5 separate regions of the Homo sapiens genome follow, and all the other regions are linked to region 3. Evidence: promoter capture Hi-C in 16 types of primary human blood cells and fetal thymus (Javierre and others, 2016). All regions are on one chromosome and are shown on one strand. The core of a region is centred on a gene start or on the middle of the fragment in contact, and the rest is flanking DNA. Distances in the headings are between cores, read along the strand shown.

Region 1 (2,729 bases), core at 35-2,534, 270 kb before region 3:
AAAAAAAAAAAAAAAAAAAAATTAAAATCCGGTATCCAAAATTCTATTCTACGCTGGTGCAGACTGTCCTGTGGGAGCCCAAAAAGAAGCAGTCACTACTGCATTGGAGGTTTGAGGCCAGCTTCTGAAAGGAAGAGATTCCCAATGGATAAGGCAACTGAGTTAGGACAGAGCACATGGGAACACATGCACAGAGGCATGGAGAGGAGCCTGTTGACTCATTTGGTGAACAAACTTGGCAGTATGCTTAGTAAGTGGGACTCTTGTTAAAGAGCCAGGCCACTGGGGCCTTGTGTGTCAGGCTCAGGGCATCGACCTATATACACAGGGCCATGGGGAAGAGCACTGTCGAGTTTTGAACAGGGAAATGATATGATTAGATTTGTATCCTGAGCAATCTTTCCATATCAAGGCAAGACTGGGCACAGGGGAATCAGGTAAGAGGGGCTGTCACAGCGGGCCAGTAGAGAGATGCCAGCTTGAGCCTCGGGAGGAAGGGCAGAGAGGAGGGAACCTATTTAAGAACATACGCTTCTGAGCACTTGTGCTGGTAGGGTTGCTGAATCATCGCAGATGCACCTGTTGCCTAGATACTACCCAGCTGCTCTCCAAAAAGGCTGCACCAATTTACGTAGGAAATGTTCTTTAGAGCACCCCAGCTATTTTTCATTCTTTCTCAGTCTTCCCATAATGCTATTGCATATTAACTGCCCTGTGAAGGAGAATCATATTCTCTGATGTGGATAAAGAAAATCAAAAGCTTCATGTTAAACTTGTGATTCCCCGTGTACTATGCATGGCTCCCCCCTGCTTTCTCTTCTACTATGCCCAGGCTCCTCAGTACATTGAAAGGTGTATCTTTCTTTATTGTTAGTCATCCCAGACTATAAATCTAGGTATACAAGAAACATTGCCTCTCTTTATTGTTTTTCTATATCAATCTAATTTCAATTCTGCACTCCGTCTTGGCAGAGTCTGGGAAATTCACCCTGAGTCATCCTCACATTTCCTGCTTCCCTGATGTCAAGAAGAGGTCTTGGGACCTTTCACGGTATCAGACATCTAGGGGCAGAGGGGTAGAGGGTCTTGTTGTCTGTAAGTTTCTGCTAAGCCATTCATTCTACCCTGTTCATTGCTGCTTCTGTGGCTGAGGAAATCTGCCAGGCAGCTGGAAGGCCTGCAGTTTCCGGTGCATCTCCCTGCACACACCAAGGGACCACTCCTCTTTGGGGAATTACCAGCTCCTCAGAGTGTTACTAGGAAGCAGGGCCCGGGGACCCACAGCTCTCTCTCTCCTCCCTCTTCTCCTTCTACCCAGGCTGTATACCTCTCCTGAGGCAATAAAGCACATAGCTGGCTTCATTTTGATAAGGTGTGGGGAGAAAGAGGGAAACACAAGGAGGGAAGATACAGGCTTCAGCCTATGGCACCTAAAGGGATAAACTGATTGTCTACTAAAAATACAAAAAAATTAGCCGGATGTGGTGGCACGTGCCTGTAGTCCCAGTTACTTGGGAGGCTGAGGCAGGAGAATCGCTTGAAGCCAGGGAGGCAGAGGTTGCAGTGAGCCCAAATTGCACCACTGCACTCCAGCTTGGGTGACAGAGCGAGACTCTGTCTTGGAAAAAATAATAATAATAAAATAAAATAAAAAGCCAACATCCAATCTAATGTTAAAATACTTAGGCCGGGCACAGAGGCTCATGCATGTAGTCCCAGCACTTTGGGAGGCCAAGGTGGGAGGATCGAGACCAGCCTGGGCAACATAGTGAAACCCGGTCTCCACAAAAAGAAAAAACCAAGCTTAAAATACTTAAGTGGGGGGTGTAGCCCAACATCATGTTTTCACAGGAAATCTCCCAGGGGACATTGCCACTTTTCCTCCTAGGATAACGACCCTTTTCTTCCTAGGCCTCTGTGGTAGGCAGAATAATTCCCCAACTACCAAAGATATCTACATCCACATCCTAACCCAGAACCTGTGTGTGTGTGAGATTACATGTCGAAGGGGAATGAAGATTGCAGATAAAATTAAGGTTGCCAATCAGCACACTTGTGACAGGGATATTCTCTTGGATTATCCAGGTAGGCCCAGTGTAATCTCAGCATCCCTATAAGTAGAAGAGGGAGGCAGAATGAACGAACCAGACAGATGGCAGTGTGAGAAGGACTTGGCCTGACGTTACCAGGTTTTAAGATGGGGGAAGGGGCCATGGGCCAAGGCATCCAGAAGTTGGAAAACGCAAGGAAATAGACTCTTCCCTAGAGCCTCTAGAAGAAACACCAAGCCTGCCAACACTTTGATTTTAGTCCAGTGAGACGCATCTCAGGCTTTTTTTTTTTTTTTTTTTGAGTCAGATTTTCACTCTTGTCACCCAGGCTAGAGTGCAATGGCAGGATCTTGGCTCACTGCAACCTCCGCGTCCTGGGTTCAAGCAATTCTCCTGCCTCAGCCTCCCCAGTAACTGGGACTACAGGTGCATGCCACCACGCCTGGCTAATTTTTTATTTTTATTTTTAGTAGAGACTAAAAATATTATTTGTTTCACCATGTTGGCCAGGCTGGTCTCGAACTTCTGACCTCAGGTGATCCGCCCGCCTCAGCCTCCCAAAGTGCTGGGATTACAGGCTTGAGCCACTGCACCCAGCCCGCATCTCAGACTTCTGACTTCTAGAACTATAAGGTAATAAATTTGTATTGTTTGAAGCCACTAAATTTGTCATAATTT
Region 2 (2,700 bases), core at 174-2,673, 290 kb before region 3:
ACTGGATCCCTTGCTTACACCTTATACAAAAATTAATTCAAGATGGATTAAAGACTTAAATATTAGACCAAAAACGATAAAAACCCTAGAAGAAAACCTAGGTAATACCATTCAGGACATAGGCATGGGTGAGGACTTCACGACTAAAACACCAAAAGCAATGGCAATAAAAGCCAAAATTGACAAATGGTATCTAATTAAACTAAAGAGCTTCTGCACAGCAAAAGAAACTACCATCAGAGTGAACAGGCAACCTACAGAATGTGAGAAAATTTTTACAATCTACCCATCTGATAAAGGGCTAATATCCACAATCTACAAAGAACTTAAACAAATTTACAAGAAAAAATCAAAAAACCCCATCAAAAACTGGGTGAAGGATATGAACAGTCACTTCTCAAAAGAAGACATTTATGCAGCTAACAGACACATGAAAAAATGCTCATCATCACTGGCCATCAGAGAAATGCAAATCAAAACTACAATGAGATACCATCTCACACCAGTCAGAATGGCAATCATTAAAAAGTCAGGAAGCAACAGGTGCTGGAGAGGATGTGGAGAAATAGGAACACTTTTATGCTGTTGGTGAGACTGTAAACTAGTTCAAACATGTGGAAGACAGTGTGGCGATTCCTCAGGGATCTAGAACTAGAAATACCATTTGACCCAGCCATCCCATTACTGGGTATATATCCAAAGGATTATAAATCATGCTTCTATAAAGACACATGCTGACATATGTTTATTACGGCACTATTCACAATAACAAAGACTTGGAACCAACCCAAGTGTCCATCAATGATAGACTGGATTAAGGAAATGTGGCACATATACACCATGGAATACTATGTAGCCATAAAAAAGGATGCATTCATGTCCTTTGTAGAGACATGGATGAAGCTGGAAACCATCATTCTGAGCAAACTATAGTAAGGACAGAAAACCAAACACCACATGTTCTCACCCATAGGTGGGAATTGAAAAATGAGAACACTTGAATACAGGGTGGGGAACATCACACACCAGGGCCTGTCTTGGGGTGGGGGAAGGGGGGAGGCATAGCATTAGGAGATATAACTAATGTAAATGATGAGTTAATGGGTGTAGCACACCAACATGGCACATGTATATATATGTAACAAACCTGTATGTTGTGCACATGTACCCTAGAACTTAAAGTATAATAAAAATAAATAAATAAACAAATAAAAGAGAAACAGCATAAAAGTTCAGAAAATTTGCAGCCTGACAGTTAAGTAGAAAAGAAAAACTCCTTTTTTTGAGGAGAAATTCAAGCCGGCTGCAGAAATTTGCATAAAGAGCAAGGAGACTAATGTTAATCCCCAAGACCCTGGGGAAAATGTCTCCAGGCCATGTCAGAGAACTTCAAGGCAGCCCCTCCCATCACAGGCCCAGGGGCCCAAGAGGAAAAAGTGGTTTTGTGGGCTGGGCCCAGGGTTCCCATGCAGTGTGCAGCCTAGGAACTTGGTGCCCAGCCACTCCAGCCATGGCTGAAAGGGGCCAATGCAGAGCTCAAGCTGTGGCCTTAGAAGGTGGAAGCCCCAAGTCTTGGCAGCTTCCATGAGGTATTGAGCCTGCGGCTACACAGAAGTCAAGAATTGAGGTTTGGGAACCTCTGCCTAGATTTCAGAAGATGTATGGAAACGCCTGGATGCTCAGGCAAAAGTTTGCTGCAGGGGGAGCATTGTGGAGAACCTCTGCTAGGGCAGTGCAGAAGGGAAATGTGGAGTCGGAGCCACCACACAGAGTCCCTACTGGGGGACTGCCTAGTGGAGTTCCCATACAGGTGCACTTGATAATTATTTATTAAACTACGCACATAGATTGTGATGTTTTCTTTCTGTATGTTACTTACTGCCATAAGCAGAGAAAAAATAGTGGTAAGGGAAGTAACATTGCATTAAACAGTCAAGTATTTTATAACCAGAAGGATAACCAAAATTATTTTCTCTATTTATAGCAGATCTCTTTGAGAGTAGTAATATCAGTTTATTGATAAAAATAGTTTTATTTTCATATTCTCATAGATTTCACTAAACATCATAGGAGTGATGCTTACATAATTGGGATATTAATTTCGATGTTTTGGTAAGTATTTTATATTTGGGTGGTAAGTTTTCATTCACAGTTTGTGACTTTGTGCTGGAATCCCATGCACTTGGTACATTTTCTCAGGGGAGATTTGTCACCTCCCCATCCACTTATTCTCAGAGGTGGAGGACCAAGAACTGGAGAAAAAGAAATGACCAAAAAAAAAATCTAAAAACATGTGCCTTCAATGTAATACATGAATTTGACCAGGTGAGGGCAGTGCCGTTTTAAGCTGTTTGCTGGGATGCAAGTGGAGGCAGCTAGTGATCTCATGCCTTTTGAGTTTCTCCTCTTCTCTACTGTTAGCTGCTGGGATTGAAAGGGCCATTTGTGCCAATTAAAATGGAAGCAGTGTTGGCAATCCTTCTGATGGGCTGCATCTCCTTTGCCTGTTTGGCACTTCCATCCTAACGCCAACCTTGCCAGCTGCTTTCCCCAGCAACTCTTTTCTTCCTGTTTCTTCTCCTCAGGCCCAACTAAGACCACTGATGTGCTACACAAAGCACGGGGCCCTGACAAACAGAGAGATAGCAGGCTGGACTGTGCAGCCCTTTGGGGCCTTATTGTTGTGAATAAAGCCAGAGG
Region 3 (2,700 bases), core at 112-2,611:
ACCTCGGAGACAGAGCGAAACTCCGTCTTACACACACAAAAAAGTACATACATAGTAGGTGGCTAGCCTCCTCCCCCGCCTACTCCCCACAACCCAGACTTCACCTTCATCATTTACCAAGGCACCGTCAGTCCCGGTCAATTCTTCATTTGCCGTGAGTTCAGTGATCAGGCTGCCCAGCCCCAAAGCCCCCAAGCCTGCCAAGTGCTTCTTACATTCCTGAAAAAGGGACAGCACGAGTCGAAGATAACAACTAAACCTACGACTCCCACACCACAGGACTTATTTCCCTGGTCCACGACAAAGTCACAAATCCACATGAAAAATGACTGTGCAGTGTGCCAAAACAAGCAACACGTTCGAGAACTGTAATATACATCTACCAAACTCCGCATCGATCAGATCTTTATTAAAGCACCACAGCCAACTGCATCGCCCACACTTTAAAGTATACTACAAGAGAAGACGAATCAAATAACTACTGCCAAGACTGAATGAATGGAACGGTCGTTCTCGGAACGAGGGCCGAGGCAGGGGGATCAGTGGGATTGGAGGCGTCGAGGCGGGGCTCGTTCGGTCCCTGTTTCGCATGCGCCTGCGGCACAGGAGGGGCCACAGCGGCCGACAGCTTCACTCCTCAAGAAAACGGGCCTAAGTGAAGGCAGGGTAGTTTCACTAGGGCGCAGGACACTATTTCACGAAAGTCAGTGAAGACGCTGGGAGAGCCACCTAAAAGGCGCACTGTGACCAGGAGGCCCGCTCGGGTGCTAGGAACACCCCATTGTCCTAAGCCTGAGGCCGGAACCAAACGAGCGGGAGGCAGGTCCTGTCCAGTCCTCTGGCTCTATAGAGCCATCTCAGGGCAGCGATGTCAGAGGGGCAGGCAGTGTCAAGAATCTCCAAGCAGGTTACGGGTGGGAAGCCATCTCAGTAGGCGAAACCAGCATGTGTCCTACTGTCTGGTCGGCAGAGCGCTAGCTCCAAAGCCACTATTCCCTGCGCCCCTGGCCCCGGGCTCGCCTCGCGCTCTCTTCTGCCCACTCTCCCCCAGAACGATCACTCCCACGCCACGTTGCTCCCGCACCCATGAGGACGGGATCCTCCTCCCCGGCGTTAGCTGCGCCCTGTTCTCGCTGCCTGAGCACCCTCTCCTTTCCTCCCCGCACCTCCTTCCTCTGCTTAGCCCCACCCCCCGAGCCCTACCCCCACGCCCACCCCCTCACATCATCCAAGACGCTTTCCCCCTCCAGCTGCCCGGCTCCATTGATGTTGCCGAAAAGGAAACCCGCTAAAGAAAATGGGCCGCCTCCAGCGGAATCTTCGTCGCTGTCCGTGTCTGACATGATGGCGGCAGCAGTGATGGTAGCTGCTGTCCGCAGCAGCAAATCGCAGCCGGGTCCCATAGACCGGAAATAAAACAACAGTCGCCCAGAAGTGACTTACTGAGCTCCCTTACCCTACCAGCCTCTACCGGAAGCTCAAAACAGAGGGGAAAGGGAGGGGGAAGTGGGGAGAGGGGAGGGGGAAGGGGGGGAAAACCCGGAAAGACCGGCTATCCTAAGAGAAAGAAGTAACTACTTTACTAACGGCTTTTGATTCGACGCTACGGGATCAGGAGGATGGATATGTGGAAAGCGGTTGGTCAAAGAAAATATTCAGTCCCGCCCGCTCCCACTGCTCCGCGCGCGAGCTTTCTCACGGCACCGAATTAGAGCAGTGGCTCTTCCTCCAATCAGAAGGAGCTGCTCGAGTCACGTGGCTTACGCGCAGGCAACCTCGGGTTCCTGTACCACAATACCCGGAAGTAAGGGTAAGAGCCGGTCTTTGTGCTGCGTGCAATTTCACCGGTCCGTCCCAAGGAGAGACTTGACGTAAATTATACAGGCATTCCCGAGCTATGCAGGTTACTTGTTTTGAGTTGACATTTTTCCCTAGAAATTGATTTTTTGACCGGACGCGGTGGCTTACGCCTGTAATTCCAGCACTTTGAGAGGCCGAGGTGGGAGGATCGCTTGAGCCCACGAGTATGAGGCCAGCCTGGACAAGAAAGCGAGACTCCATCCATACACAAAATCAAAAAAATTAGCCAGATGTGGTGGCCAGTGCCTGTAGTCCCAGCTGTTGGGGGGTCTGAGGTGGGAGCCAGGAGTTGGAGTCTGCAGTGACCTGTGATCGGGCCACTGCACTCCAGCCCGCCTCAAAAAAAATACTTGTTCCCCCAACGTTTTATTTCGGAAAATGTGAAAGTTTAGTAAAATGAACAGCTGACCCCTCACCTAGACTCACAATGGTTAACATTTTGCTAGGATTTTTGTTTTTCTAAACCATTTATGGGCATCTTGTTCTTCACTCCTAAAAATAAGCATCTTAACTATGGAACCAAAGTACCTTTATCACAACTTTAGGAAGTAAGTCAATATTATTTAAGGAAGAGTCCGCACTTAAATTTCCCCAGTTGTCCTAGTTGGAACATTTTACGGGGTTTCGTCATGTTGCACAGGCTGGTCTCAGACTCCTGGGCTCAAGCAATCTGCCCGTTTCAGCCTCCCAAAGTGCTGGGATTGCAGCCATGAGCCAACACCCCGGCTTTCACCTTGCTTTTTTCACATATTATGATAATATAGACTGAAATAATTTCTTTACCACATCATAGCACTCTTCCTCATTCTCCCTTTTTTCCAATACTAGGATCCATTCACG
Region 4 (2,700 bases), core at 163-2,662, 350 kb after region 3:
TTGGAAAGACTTAAGTAATGCAAAAGGTTGTCCTTTGTTTTTTTTTTTTTTAAATCTATGGAGAAGTTGCTCTAGTAACCCAAAGAAGGGAAGGAGAAAGCAGCTGCCTCACCGCCCAGACATTGATTTGTTCAGACGATACAATAAAACCACAAAAATTTTATTAACAACAAAAAAAGATTTCTTTAATATTTAATAGTTGAAAGAATGAATCCTGGCTCTTCTGTGTACTAGCTGCCTGATCATGGAAATATTACTTACTTTCTCCAAACTTCAGTTTCTTCATCTATCAAGTGGATTGATACTTACTGTAAGAATTAAATTAAAAAAATAAAGCACTCAACACGATGCCTGGCACATACTTAGAGCTCAGTAAATAGTCACTATTATTAGGCAGTGGAAAGCAGAGTTAATGAGAAGGAAGTTGAATCATGTGAAGGATTATTCTTCACAGATAGGTATGCAATTACTTATTTATTGTCAGAGCAGCTTACAGAAGTTTAAGGGTCAGAGCCTCTTGGACATCAGGCTATAATGAATGCAAATTAGACTCATTTGAAGGAAAGTAGTTCCCTTTTGTTTCCTGAGTTTGTAAGAAATTAGAACTTCTATATATTTTCTCTGATGGTTAATTTTAGATGTCAACTTGACTGGATTAAGGAATACCTAGAATCCTGGTAAAGCATTATTTTGGAGTGTGTCTGTGAGGGTTTCCAGAAGAGATGATTGTGTGAGTCTGAGTGGACTAGGTGGGGAAGATTTGCCCTTAGTGTGGGCAGGCATCATTCAATCTGTTAGGGACCTGTAGAGAACAAAAAATGAGAAAAAGGCAAATGTGTTGATTTATCTGCTGGAGCTGGGATACATTTGTCTCCTGCTTTGGGCAACAGAACTCTGGTCTCCCCGGTCTTTGGACTCCAGAACTTACACCAGTGCTCCCTGCCTAACCTTCGGTTCTCAGGCCTCTGGCCTCCGACTGAGAGTTACACGCCATTGGCTTCCCTGGTTCTGAGGCCTTCAGACTTGGACTGAACCATGCTATCAGCATCCTGGGGTCTCCAGCTTGCAGATGGCCTGTTGTGGGATTTCTCAGCCTCTATAATCATGTGTGCCAATTCCCCTAATAAATTCCCTCTCATATATCTATCTATATGTATCCTATTGGTTCTCTGACTAATATACTTTCAGGATATATATATAATATAATAGTCAGGAGAACTCTGACTAATATACTTTCCTTCCAGAATAGTACTTTTAACATGAGCATTCTTTTTATTATTATTATTTTTTAGATGGAGTTTCACTTTTGTTGCCCAGGCTGGAATGCAATGGCACAATCTTGGCTCACTGCAACCTCCGCCTCCTGGGTTCAAGTAATTCTCCTGCCTCAGCCTCCCGAGTAGCTGGGATTACAGGCATGCGCCACCACGCCCAGCTAATTTTGTATTTTTAGTAGAGATGGGGTTTATCCATGTTGGTCAGGCTGGTCTCAAACTCCTGACCTCAGGTGATCTGCCTGCCTCGGCCTCCCAAAGTGCTGGGATTACAGGCATGAGCCACCGCGCCCAGCCAACATTAGCATTCTTAGTATTTACCATTAGTATTTTTAATGTTTCTGTTTGACTCAAATCTTGAATTTTTTGGAAAATAGTAAAACGATGGACAGGTTAGGTGGATAGGCCATGCTAGTTGAAAACAGAGAAGATGGTAAAGTATAAAAGATAGCTGGGCATGGCGGCACGCACCTGTAGTCCCAGCTACTCAGGAGGCTGAGGTGGGAGAATCACTTCAGACCAGTAGTTTGAGACCAGCCTGGGCAACATAGTGAGACACAATCTCTAAGAAAAAAGAGTTTCCTCCTTAATCAGTTCAGATCACCTTTTGGACATAAGTCATTAGGTTATTTGTCTGGGTAGAGTAAAGCAGGCTGCCGGGAGTTGAAGTGTCACAGGGAGACTAAAGAAGAGGTACTAAAGAGGCTTTTCAGACGGCTTATCAAAGTTAAGGAGGAGGAGTTAGGCCTCTCAGTCTAGATAGCAAGGAAAGGGATGGACTGGTTTTTATGGACCAAGTTTTGTGAGGCCTAAAAAAGCTACTTGGGAGGCTGAGGCAGGAGAATTTGCCCTAAAAGGGCAGGAGGCCTAAAAAAGGAGTCATAGGGGATAAAGTTTAAAGATACAGGATTTTTTGTTGTTATTGTTTTACATTGTTTTATTTATTTTAATTTTTTGAGACAGGGTCTTGCTCTGTTGCCCAGGCTGGAGTGCAATGGTGCGATCTTGGCTCACTGCAACCTCCAACTCCCAGGTTCAAGTGATTCTCCTGCCTCAGCCTCCAGCGTAGCTGGGACTACAGACGCGCACCACCACGCCTGGCTAATTTTTGTATTTAGTAGAGACGGGGTTTTACCATGTTGGCCAGGCTGGTCTCGAACTCCTGACCTCATGATCCACCCACCTTGGCCTCCCAAAGTGCTGGGATTACAAGCATGAGCCACCGCTTCTGGCCATACACTTTATTTTTTAGAGAAGTTTTAGTTCACAGCAAAATTGAGCAAAAGGTATAGAGAGTTCCCGTATACTTCCTGTCCACACACGCACAATCTCTTTTACTATCAACATCCCACACCAGAGTGGTATATTTGTCACTATCAATGAACCATCATTACTACCCAAGGTCTATAGTTTACATTAGGGTTCA
Region 5 (2,933 bases), core at 43-2,542, 370 kb after region 3:
TGTTTGTTCATGCAATTAGTGTTAAGTTGTCATCAGTTTAATAATAACATTGAATGTAAATGGACTCAACTCTCCAATCAAAAGACACAGAGTGGCTGAATGGATAAAAAAAAAGCAAGACCCAATGATCTGTTGCCTACAAGAAGCACACTTCCCCTATAAAGACACACATAGACTGAAAATAAAGGGATGGAAAAAGATATTCCATGCCAATGGAAATAAAAAAGGAGAAGGAGTAGCTGTACTTCTGTCAGACAAAATAGATTTCAAGACAAAAACTATAAAGAGACAAAGAAGGTCATTATATAATATAAATATAAATATATATAAAGAGACAAAGAAGGTCATTATATATAAAGAGACAAAGAAGGTCATTATATAATGATAAATTCAGCAAGAGGATATAACAATTTTAAATACATATGCATCCAACACCAGAGCACCCTGATATACAAAAGGAATATTATTAGAGCTAAAGAAAGAGACAGAACCTAATACAATAATAGCTGTAGACTTCAACACCTCACTTTTAGCATTGGACAGATCATCTGGACAGAAAACCAACAAAGAAACATTGGACTTAATCTGCACTATAGATTAAGATCTGCAAACTGATCTAAAAGATATTTACAGAACATTTCATCCAATGGCTGCAGAATACACATCTTCTCATCAGCAAATGGATCATCCTCAAGGATAGACTATATGTTAGGCCACAAAACAAGTCTTAAAACATTAAAAAAAAATTATGTCAAGTACATTCTCTGACCACAGTGGAATAAAACTAGAAATCAATAACAAGAGGAATTTTGGAAACTATACAAACACATGGAAATTAAACACCATGCACTTAAATGACAAGTAGGCCAATAAAAAAAATGAGAAGAAAACTGAAAAATTTCTTGAAACAAATGATAATGGAAGCACAACATACCCAAACCTATGGGACGCAGTGAAAGCAGTACTAAGAGGGAAGTTTATAGCTATAAGCACCTACGTCAAAAAAGTATTAGGTTGATGCAAAAGTAATCGCGGTTTTTGCCATTGAACATAATGGCAAAAAGTAATGGTTTTCACTTTCAATGGCAAAAACCGCAATTACTTTTGCACCAACCTAGAAAAAACTTCAACCTAGTTCTAGTTGAAGAGATAAACAACCTAAATGAACTTTTCTAGTTCTTTAACATGCATCATTAGGTGGTTTATTTGAAGAATAGAACCTAATGATGCATGAGACAGAACTAGAAAAACTAGAAAAACAAGAAAAAACAACCCCAAAATTAGTAGAAGAAAATAGATAGTAATGATCAGAGCAGAAATAAGTGAAATTGAAACAAATAAAACAATACAAAAGATTGATGAAATGAAAAGTTGTGTATTTTTTGGAAAAGATAAACAATATTGACAAACCTTTAGTCAGACTAAGAACAGAAGAGAGATTATCCAAATAAATAAAATCACAGATGAAAAGGGAGACTTTACAACTGATACTGCAGAAATTCAAAGGATCATTAGAGGCCACTATGAGCAACTATATGCCAATAAGTTAGAAAACCTTGAAGAAATGAATAAATTCCTAGACATATACACCTTCCCAAGATTGAACCATGAAGAAATCCAAAACTTGAACACACCAATAACAAGTAATGAGATCGAAGCTATAATACTAAGTCTCCCAGCAAAGATAATCCTGGGGCCCAATGGCTTCACTGCTGAATTTTACCAAACATTTTAAGAAGAACTAATACCAATCCTATTCAAACTATTCTGAATAACAGAGGAGGAGGGAATATTTTCAAACACACTCTACAAGGCCAGTATTACCCTGATACCAAAACCAGACAAAGACACTTCAGAAAAAGAAAACTACAGGCCAGTATCCCTGATGAACGTTAACGTAAAAATTCTCAAGAAGGCCAGGCATGGTGGCTCACGCCTGTAATCCCAGCACTTTGGGAGGATGAGGCGGGTGGATCACATGAGGCCAGGAGTTTGAGACCAGCGCGGCCAACACGGTGAAACCCCATCTCTACTAAAAATACAAAAATTAGCTGGGCGTGTTGCTGCACGTCTGTAAACCCAGCTACTCAGGAGGCTGAGCCATGAGAATTGCTTGAACCTGGGAGGCAGAGGTTGCAGTGAGTTGAGATCGTGCCACTGCACTCCAGCCTGGGCAACAGGGTGAGATCTTATCTCAAAAAAAAAAAATCCTCAAGAAAATACTAACAAACCAGTCAGATGCAATGGCTCATGCCTGTCAATCCCAGTGCTTTGGGAGGCCAATGTGGGAGGATTACTTGAAGCCAGGAGTTTGAGACCAGACTGGGCAACATAGTGAGACCCTGTCTCTACTAAAAAAAAAAAAAAGACAAAAAAAGACTAGCAAATCGAATTCAACAACACATTAAAAGATCATTCATCATGGCCAAGTGGGATTTATCTCTGGATGCAAGGATGGTTTAATGTATGCAAATCAATCAATGAGATATGTCATACCAATAGAACAAAGGACAGAAACCATATGATCATTTCAACTGATGCTGAAAAAACATTTAATAAAATTCAACATCCCTTCATGATAAAAATCCTCAAGAAACTGGGTATAGAAGAAACATACCTCAACACAACACAAGCCATATATGACAGACCACAGCTAGTATCATACTGAATGAGGAAAACCTCAAGGCCTTTACTCTAAGATCTGGAACACAACAAGGATGACTACTGTAAACACTGTTATTCAACATAGTACTGGAAGTCCTAGCTAGAGCAATCAGACAAGAGAAAGAAATAAAAGGTATCCAAATTGGAAAAGAAATCAAATTATACTTGTTTGTAAATGATATGATCTTATATTTGGAAAAAACCTAAAGACTTCACCAAAAAACTATTAGAACTGATAACAAATTCATAAAGTTACAGGATATAAAATC

The links. Contacts are between HindIII fragments. The CHiCAGO score rates a contact against its expected background, and 5 or more counts as called.
Region 1: a contact is called between a fragment that was not itself captured here and the fragment with the promoter of TAF1 in region 3, in 6 of 17 cell types (total B cells, non-activated CD4 T cells, activated CD4 T cells and 3 more). The highest score is 9.0, in total B cells.
Region 2: a fragment that was not itself captured here is called in contact with the fragment with the promoter of TAF1 in region 3 in 2 of 17 cell types (activated CD4 T cells and non-activated CD4 T cells); the score reaches 7.1 in activated CD4 T cells.
Region 4: a contact is called between a fragment that was not itself captured here and the fragment with the promoter of TAF1 in region 3, in 2 of 17 cell types (M1 macrophages and non-activated CD4 T cells). The highest score is 5.6, in M1 macrophages.
Region 5: a fragment that was not itself captured here is called in contact with the fragment with the promoter of TAF1 in region 3 in 1 of 17 cell types (fetal thymus); the score reaches 6.0 in fetal thymus.

The regions. Positions count from the first base shown.
Region 1 is chrX:71,634,921-71,637,649 of GRCh38, reverse strand. No RefSeq gene overlaps it. Among named protein-coding and RNA genes, the nearest start is that of CXCR3, 18 kb to the right of the region's middle. The HindIII fragment of the contact is 1,043 bases long and covers 763-1,805 here.
Region 2 is chrX:71,652,291-71,654,990 of GRCh38, reverse strand. No RefSeq gene overlaps it. Among named protein-coding and RNA genes, the nearest start is that of CXCR3, 35 kb to the right of the region's middle. The HindIII fragment of the contact is 6,979 bases long and covers 1-2,700 here.
Region 3 is chrX:71,365,018-71,367,717 of GRCh38, reverse strand. TAF1 (TATA-box binding protein associated factor 1) reads right to left here and starts at 1,361. Exons shown (of 38, transcript NM_004606.5): 1 at 1,224-1,361; 2 at 105-219. The coding sequence starts at 1,343. RefSeq lists enhancers at 56-751, 1,270-1,319, 1,810-1,859, 2,028-2,597 and a silencer at 1,480-1,669. The HindIII fragment of the contact is 14,477 bases long and covers 1-2,700 here.
Region 4 is chrX:71,013,615-71,016,314 of GRCh38, reverse strand. No RefSeq gene overlaps it. Among named protein-coding and RNA genes, the nearest start is that of SNX12, 53 kb to the left of the region's middle. The HindIII fragment of the contact is 5,492 bases long and covers 1-2,700 here.
Region 5 is chrX:70,993,712-70,996,644 of GRCh38, reverse strand. No RefSeq gene overlaps it. Among named protein-coding and RNA genes, the nearest start is that of SLC7A3, 64 kb to the right of the region's middle. The HindIII fragment of the contact is 8,810 bases long and covers 1-2,933 here.